2 separate regions of the Homo sapiens genome follow, and region 2 is linked to region 1. Evidence: promoter capture Hi-C in 16 types of primary human blood cells and fetal thymus (Javierre and others, 2016). All regions are on one chromosome and are shown on one strand. Each heading gives the region's core, a stretch centred on a gene start or on the middle of the fragment in contact. The rest is flanking DNA. Distances are from core to core; before and after follow the strand shown.

Region 1 (4,390 bases), core at 711-3,210:
TAGGGACTGCCCCAGGAATGTGGGTGACAAGGACAAGCCTGACTGAGCAGAAGGTCAAGGGCTGGGCATGACCTGCTCACAGCACACCCTGCCTGAAACCTCTCAAGAGCACCCACTGCCCTCAGGATGGCTCTGTGCAGAGCACTGGCTGCTGACGGGGAGGCAGGGTCATTGGGGTCTGTCTCTGGCTGTGCTGCTGAATGCACCGCACCTGGGCCTGGGCCCGGGCCCGGGCCCGCCCCGCTAGGCCCAGCACAATCTGGCCCCTGCTGATGCCTCGGTCTTTTCTCTCACTGCTCACTCCCTTTCCTACCCTTATACTTGGACATCCTCAGTGACTCACTGTTCCTGAAATACGCCAGCTCTTGCCATCTCCTGGCCTTCACACACTGGCCCTTCTACCTGAAATTTTGACTAGTGAATTTCCACTTATGGTTCATGGCTCAGTTCAGATGATACCTCCTCCAGGAAGCCTTCCCTGACCACTCCCAAGCTGCCAAGAGCCTCTATATTCCCCTTTATCCCATTTTGACTATATGCATTATGTTGTCAGGGTAAGGGTCAGTCCCACCTCTGCCCCCAAAGTTGGCGAGTTGATCCAGGGCAGGATGTGGCCAATGGGAGAGGGTCTGAGACATTGCCTTGTCTCCAGCCTTGTCCAGCACAGGGCCAGACCCAGAGACGGCCTCAGGAAGGAGCTTAAAAGGCAGCCCCAGCCTACAGACCCTGGTATGAGGCCCCTCTGGCTCCCAACCTGTCTCCTAGAATGCGCATCAATTTTTCACAAGGGCCCATTCAGAGCCGCCGGGGCATTCGATCCTCTGCCCATGACACTGCCCGACATCCGAGCCCTGACCCCTGCCCTGGAGCTCTGGGACACAGCAAACCCACAGTCCTTCCAGAGACCTGAACTAGTCTGGATGCCTGGTGGAGATGTGGATTCAACAGGGCCAGCAGGCAGTTGCCACCGGGCACTTGTCTGAAGATGGTGCCCAGGCTGTGGAGCAGGCGCCCTATGCCAGCATGAGCCATGAGGGCTGGGGGCAGAGCCAGTGCTTTCACTAGAGACATGGGGCTCCAAGGGATGGGGGAGAGTGGTGAGGGCGTGAAATTTAAGGGCCACATTTTAAAATGACCAGACAGACATTTCATTTCTAAAAATGAGAACTAGACCACCTTCAAGTTAATTTCTTTTCCAACTGACAACAGGGGGCATAGACTGTATTTGTATTTCTATGTCTATACCTGATTTTACCTCTTCCCCACTACAACCCTGGCTGTTGGGGCTTCATACTCCCATTTCACAGATGGGATATTTGGGGCATAGAGGAAGGAAGTGACTTATCCAAAAACGGAGATAAAGAGTGTCAGAGAGAAAGCAAAGGAGACAGAGAGAACGGACTCTTCTCTCTGCCACCACAGCATGTCTATTCCCCTGGCCCCAGGATGCCACTAACCCCAGCCCCAGCTCAGAGAAGATTCGATGGACAACATGCTCCTTGGCTCTTCCCTCCTCCAGGGGACACACATCCATCTTCCCAGGCTCGGGACAGTTTCATTCAGTGGCTGTGGTGGCTGAGCCCTCAAGGGTGGCAGGAAGCCCAGTCCCAGGAGCAAGTGGCTGTGGGGCAGAGGCTCTAGAGGTAGCTCAAGTCCATGACTCCTCCACATCCAAACCCCTCCCAATGCCCAGGACAGTGGGCAGCCCATCCTTACCTGGGGCCCAGCTGCCCACTCTCAGTGACCTGCCAGCCTGGTACAGCTGCCACCTGCACGGAGGACTCAGGAAGCTGGGTCACGGGCCCAGCCAGTCTGCAAACACACGTCCCCTCTTCCTCTGTCTGGCTCCAAGTCTCGTTCTAGGCGTCCCTCTGGGTCTTTCCCTTCCTCGCCGTCTCTCTGTGTGTGTCTCTTGTCTCTCCCTCTCTCTCCTGCCCAGAGCAGCTGTCCAGCCAGCACTGCTGCCCTCCCCTCCTCACTCCAGAGCCTTCTCCCAGGAGGCGGAGCCGGAGGGGGCCTCCAAGGTCTGGGTGCGGTGACATCAGCGTGGGGGACGGGCCGTGCTGGGGCTGGGACTAATGTCCAGAGGCTGCTCAGGGCTCTGTGCAGAGCACTGGCTGCCGACAGGGAGGCGGGGTCATTGGGGTCTGTCTCTGGCTGTGCTGCTGAATGCACCGCACCTGGGCGTGGGCCCCCCAGGCTAGCTTCAGGTGCCTCCTGTTGTTTGCAGGACACCGCCTGCTGTCTCAGCACCTGAGCAGGAAACCGCACCTGATCCTGACTTAATCACTGATGTGCTGGGGTCTCAGCCCCATTTCTTCCTCCTCTACCTGGCTGTTTGGGACTCAGAGAGGGAACGGTCAGGCAGAGCATGGCAGGAGGGAGAGTGCTGAGCTAAAGCCCTGCCTTCTGCGCCTTCTCCCTCCTGCACACCCACCCTTGCCTCTGATGTGTGTTCTCTGACGCTGGTCAATGCAACATTGCCCCCACAACCTGCTCTGCGGGTTGGGGACACATGTTATTCCGTAATCATCCAGAAACTTTGCCAAACCAGCTGACTGGGAGCCACCCCACGTGTGACAGCGACACAGATAAACTGAAGTGAAATCTGTGATTTAAAGGAGTGGGGGGAACCAAGCAAAGAGGAGCACACGTCTTTGTTATTAGCGTTGTCGAGGATGGAGACCTCGCGCGGCCCTATCGGGACATGACAGTTTCTCCTTTCCGCCCTCGGCAGCCACGCAGCTGTCGGCGGCCCCATAGTGCACCTCGCCAGGGCAGCTCTGGGTGGCAGAAGGATGTCTCTTTTGGGTCCCTAGCCCCCATAACTGGGGTGTCTGCAGGGAAGCTGCCCAGAAGGTGGGGTGGGGGCCCAAAGGGGCGCTATAGCTCGCCAGCGCCGCCTGCTGGTCACAGGCCCCACTGCCCAGCTGCTTCCGTCAGGCGGGCTGAGCACCGCTGGGAAGTGACCGTGACAGGAGTCAGCTTCTGCTAGGGCCTGGGTCCCCTCAGACCCGACGACCCTGTCCCAGGAAGACCCCAGGATGCCGTCTGCCCCTTAGCCTGCTGGCCTAACAGGAGTCCAGGAGTCCCTGGAACACAGTCCCCACCTGGGATTTGCACCTGCTGCCGAAACCCAGTACTGGCCACTCCTCAAGTCCCCCCTCTCCATCCTCCCAGGCTGGGCGGGGCCAGTGGCGTCAGCCCTACACGGATGGGGAAATGAGACCCCGGGGGAGCACAGGAGAGCCCATGGCACACGACTGGCAGCAGGGACAAAATGCAGTGAGCTGTGGGAATGGGGCAGAGAGGTGGGCAGGTTATGGGGGACAGGGCGGCCTCCAAACACCAGGATGACAGCTACATTGTGTTCAGCCATGCTATGAACCAGGCACTATGCTAAGCAGATCACACGATTTGCAATACCCATTTCTCAGTCCCATGAAGAAAGCGAGGCATCTCGGTTCACTTTGCCCTCACACTGCACTCACCCCGTCTCCCAAGTCGTTTTTCATTGAGTCGTCCACTCTGCTTTCAGTCATCCCAACCCTGCTTCTCCCCACCACCACACCAGCTTCCTGGCCCTAGATGCCTGCATCTGCCCTCAGCAGCCTCCGCTCTGGTCCCCCCACACCTTCCTGTGCCCCGAAGGCCCATCTCCTCTTCCCAGCCCTTCATGCACAGATCAGGGAGTAGGCCGTCTCTAACCCAGCAGGCCCACACTGCCCCATCAGTAATGTGCGGGGTAGTGTCTGTCATGACCAGAGTATGTCTTTGTTCTCGCTGCTCGTTTGTAGACTGTCCCAGAGCAGGGATTGCTATGCCTGGTTCCCCACATCCCAGGTGCCCGGGGCAGGCCTTGGCACAAAGCCAGCCCCGTACAGATCTACTGAATAAAGGAATGACTGAATGATCCCCACAATCTCAGCTCACAGGTGCACCGGGCAGGCAGCGGGGCCTTCCCTCTGACCAGCGGACAGTCGCCCAGGCCTGGGGAATATTCCTCCATTGTCCCTTCCCCCCAGGGGGACAGAGGGACACAGGAAAGTCTTTTTGGAATTTTGTAAGATTTATTGAGAATAGAACAGGCTTCCTGTCCCCTAACCCTGTGGTGGATCCTGAGAAGAGGGAAGCCTAGGTCTGGGTGGTGTGGGCTGGAGGCCCTACCCACCTGCAAATGGGGACTCCCAGGCCCCCGCGGGTGCATACAGTGAACAAAGTAATTGCTCTCCCCTATCACCCCTGATCCTTACCTGCCTGGCCCCCAAGGTCTCCTGGGGACCAGAGATCCCTGCATAGCCAGGAGCCAGCCTGGCCCACCTCAAGGGGCAGGAAGCAAGGGTAGCACTGTGGAACCTGTTTTTGTCAGGGGGTGGCAGGCATGCCCCGG
Region 2 (4,320 bases), core at 1,041-3,540, 470 kb before region 1:
TCTTTACATTAGTGACCTTTTTAACTTTAAAATTTAAAAACGGATTTTTTGAGATGGAGTCTCGCTCTGTCGCCCAAGCTGGAGTGCAGTGGTGCGATCTCAGCTCACTGCAAGCTCCGCCTCCTAGGTTCCCACCATTCTCTTGCCTCAGCCTCCCAAGTAGCTGGGACTACAGGTGCCCGCCACCACGACCAGCTAATTTTTTGTATTTTTAGTAGAGACGGGGTTTCACCATGTTAGCCAGGATGGTCTCAATCCCCTGACCTCATGATCTGCCTGCCTCGGCCTCCCAAAGTACTGGGATTACAGGCGTGAGCCACTGCGCCCGGCCTAAAAACAGAGAAAATTTTTCTTTAAAGAAGTTATCGGAAAATACTAGCACTCTGTAGAACTGACCAAAAGTTATATTACTAGCATTTAAAACCAGTTTTTCTCTGATATTCTTCATGTTTAGGCCTATAGATATTATTGAGCATAACAATATTGAGCATAACAATATGATATTGAGCATAACAATAACATTAATGTGAGATAGAGGAATGGAAGGTAAACAGGAAGAGTAAAGTGTGATTGACTATTCAAACCTGTTATGGCACTTCCCTTCTGTGTTACCTTCTGTGTATGTGTGTGTGTGTTTTAAAGAAAATGACTAACAAGGAACAATATGCTAACTGGATAAAAAGAAGAGTGAATTAATGGAGGGCCAAGCATCTTCATATTCACTTACAGTTATGAGTTATAATCAGGCTTAAAACAGATGACTAAACAAAATCAATAAATGCTGATAACTTTATATACGTAATGCAAAAGAAATGCATAATAATTTTTTGTATATTGTATAATTTTGTGTGTTATTTGACCCATCTTTATAAAGAGTTTATATATCTGATCTAAATAGAAGTAACTGGAATGTAGCCTGAGCAACATAGCGAGACCTCATCTCTACAAAATATACAAAAATTAGCCGGGTGTGGTGGCACATGCCTGTCATCCCAGCTACTCAGGAGGCTAAGGCAGGAGGATTGCTTGTGCCCAGGAGTTCAAGCACAGTGAGCTATGGCTATGATCATGCCGCTGCCCTCAAGCCTGGGTGACAAAGAGAGACCCTGTCTCGAAAAAAAACAAAACAAAAACAATAAAAATAACAGGAATGTAATGTGGATAATTTTTAAACTATACTTAATACAGGTATTCATTGTTTCATGAGATGCTGTTCTGCAAAATGAGTCAAATGAACTAAATGATACTTTATCTGGAGCTCACAAATGTGAAAAAACAAATTTCTTTAGCAAAAAAAAAAAAGATTATTTTTGAAGGGAAGTAAGCACTCGTTGCTTTTTTGGTGCTCAGATCTAAGGTTTCTTAAAGTGATAGCATATCTGAAACTGACTACCTTTAACAGTTTTAAAGGATACTACACAAAGTATTATTTCAGGCATGTTAGCTACCTTTTTCATTTTCTGTTTTGTGCCTGCTGTGGCTTTGGAAATTGACATGTTACAATGATATACACATATCATATTTTAAAATACCCTAATCTTTCAGACATATTAAATAAAAATACGCTTACCTAAAGAAGGAGCCAGCCAGTATACTATAAAAAACTGAGGGAATGCTTCATCAAAACACATGAAATGTAGCGAAAGTGCCAAAGCTGGATTAAATACAGCTCCTGTTAGACTTCCTCCTGTAACAGATTTTAAGCAGAGTGATTTCAAATGATTTATCTTCCATTTCCTTGTAACTGGAAATAAATGGTTACTAAATGTGACTTTTATTTTAGGTATTCTTAGTCTGTGATCTTCCTTTGCAGAATCACCTGGCATATTTTAGACTATAATCATAAATCATAATATGCCACTTACTATAAAAAAAAAGACAGAGGACATTAAAGTTTGAACCCAGTGCTTTTCCTATAGACTATAAAATGGACACTGAAAGTTAATGTGCTCTATTATTATTCCTACCGTTTTATAAAATAGATTTGGCTGCCCTGAACATTTGTCAATTTAAATGAATGAATAATAATAAAAGTAAAATGAAAATACAGTTAAATAGATACAATGACCCAAGATCCTCTTGAGTACAAGCATAACTTTGTATTGAAAAGGTAAAATGGACCAATAGACCAAAGCTTTATCATTGGTTCTATTTTTACTTGTCAACAGAGCCCTTAAGAAGGGACTGTGAGTAGTCATGAGAGATAAGCACAAATTATAACTGTTGGCTACTTTTTAGGATTTGTGTTCCAGCTCTGCACCCAGGGTATTTCTCTGGCATGGGGCTAGGAGTCTATAGTCTGGCCACACAAGTGCGGAATGGAAGAGGAGGCTGGATGCCTGTCCAGCAGTACTCCACAGAGCTGTGTCTTCGCTTTTCAAAGTCCAGCCTAAGAGCATCCCTCAGACAGTGACATTTTCAGCAGTTTTTCCAAGTGGAAGCTTAGGCACACAACTCTGCCTCTTTTACTTAGCCACAGAGATAGATCCTGAGATCTTCAGAAGTTTTATTATTGACATGCACCATTGTAGCCTGTTTTCATGGAAATTAAGTGGCCCTTTCATAAGATTTCACTACTGAGATTTCACACTTGAATAGGCCGAGAACAATGAAGCTGTGTTGAGATGAAGATATTTAGCAATGAACTAAGCTCACTCAATAGCTAAGAGTTTTTTCTAGTGTACCAGCCTCACAGCATGATTCACATTCATGACTCAGCAATTATAAATGATATCATAGACCTTTGGAATCATTCTTGAACAGTCAAATCCTGGAATGTTAAACCTGCCACTGCTAAGGGTGAACAGAATTGTCTGGTTGGCAGCTAGTCATTTCAGTTTGATTACACAAAAACTTATTGAGTTCCTGTGTACTAGATACCATGGGCAGAAAGATAAAGACTCACACAGACATTTACAATATAATGTAATATGACCTATGATGATATAAATGACCTGTGACTTTTAGGCATGTATTGATAAAAATGGACTGAATCATTACCCTCACTTAGTTTACTTCAGTATTCAAGGCCATGGTATACTGAAGATTTTCCACTAGATCTAAGATGAACACCACTGATCAGTCTTATGCCATCCTAAAACTCAAACGACTTCACTTCCTAATCTTCTCATCCTCACACAGCAGTTCTGATCAGTGTGACTTAGTGGTAGCTGCTTCTCCCAGCAAGACGTTGTCTACTTTCCCTCTCTTAAAAATGAGCTGGCTTTGCAACTTGTGTTGATAGAATGCAGCAGAGTAGGGCTATGGGAATTCTGAATGTAACAGGAGTGATGCTGTGTGAATTCTAGGTTCACATCTCAATAAACCCATCAGCTTCCACTTTTTGCTCTCTTGGAAGAATGCCCTGACCATGTAAGTTTGCTGGTCTAGGTTGCTGGAGGATGAAAGGCCACACGGAAGAGAACTGAGGCATCTTAGATGACAGCTGACAACTGCCAGACATATGAGTGAGGCTACCTTGGGCTTTCCAGCCTCACCACTGGTCAGCTGAATGCAGCTATATGAGAGATCTCAGAGGAACTGCCCATCTATAACCCACAGAATCATGAAAAATAAGTTATTCTCAGTTTTGGGGCCAGGCATGGTGGCTCATGCCTGTAATCCTAACACCTTGGAAGGCTGAAGCGGGTGGATCACTTGAGCCCAGGAGTTTGTAATGAGCTCAGGCAACATAGCAAAACCCCGTTTCTATAAGAAATACAAAAATTAGCTGGTTGTGGTGCCACATGCCTGTGGTCCCAGCTACTTGGGAGGCTAAGGCAGGAGAATAAACTGAGCCTGCAGAGGTTGAGGCTGCAGTGAGTCGAGATTGTGCCACCGCTCTCCAGCCTGGGTGACAGAGTGAGATCCTGTCTCAAAAAAAAAAAAAAAAAAAAAAGTTTTGAATGGTGTGTTACACAGCAATAGTTAACTGATACAGAAATCCATGTCAGGTGTGGGTTCTGTGTTAACAAAAACTAAAAACATGGCATTGGCTTTAATGTCTTACTGGATAATTCTTTGTTGTGAGCTGTCCTGTGCACCGCAGCATGCTTAGCAGCATCCCTGGCCTCTACTCAGATGGCAGTGGCCTATTCCCTCTCCCCACATCGTAACAACCAAAAATGTCCCCTGGGGGGAAAACTGTCCCTAAGTTCAGAATTACTGTCCTAGAGAAACACTGGTATTTGTGTATGAGAAGACATATACAAGATTTTTTTTTTTTTTTTTTGAGACGGAGTCTCGCTCTGTCGCCCAGGCTGGAGTGCAGTGGCATGATCTCGGCTCACTGCAAGCTCCACCTCCCGGGTTCACACCATT

What was found. The method cuts DNA at HindIII sites, captures the fragments that hold promoters and counts their contacts. A CHiCAGO score of 5 or more calls a contact.
Region 2: a fragment that was not itself captured here is called in contact with the fragment with the promoter of MYO7A in region 1 in 1 of 17 cell types (M1 macrophages); the score reaches 5.5 in M1 macrophages.

What each region holds. Positions count from the first base shown.
Region 1 is chr11:77,125,816-77,130,205 of GRCh38, reverse strand. It overlaps MYO7A (myosin VIIA), which reads right to left and starts at 1,960. Exons shown (of 49, transcript NM_000260.4): 1 at 1,717-1,960. CAPN5 (calpain 5) reads right to left here. Exons shown (of 13, transcript NM_004055.5): 13 at 4,051-4,390. RefSeq lists enhancers at 382-1,105, 1,828-2,551, 2,552-3,274. The HindIII fragment of the contact is 18,517 bases long and covers 1-4,390 here.
Region 2 is chr11:77,600,923-77,605,242 of GRCh38, reverse strand. AQP11 (aquaporin 11) reads right to left here. Exons shown (of 3, transcript NM_173039.3): 2 at 1,571-1,687. Among named protein-coding and RNA genes, the nearest start is that of AQP11, 13 kb to the right of the region's middle. RefSeq lists an enhancer at 1-6. The HindIII fragment of the contact is 307 bases long and covers 2,137-2,443 here.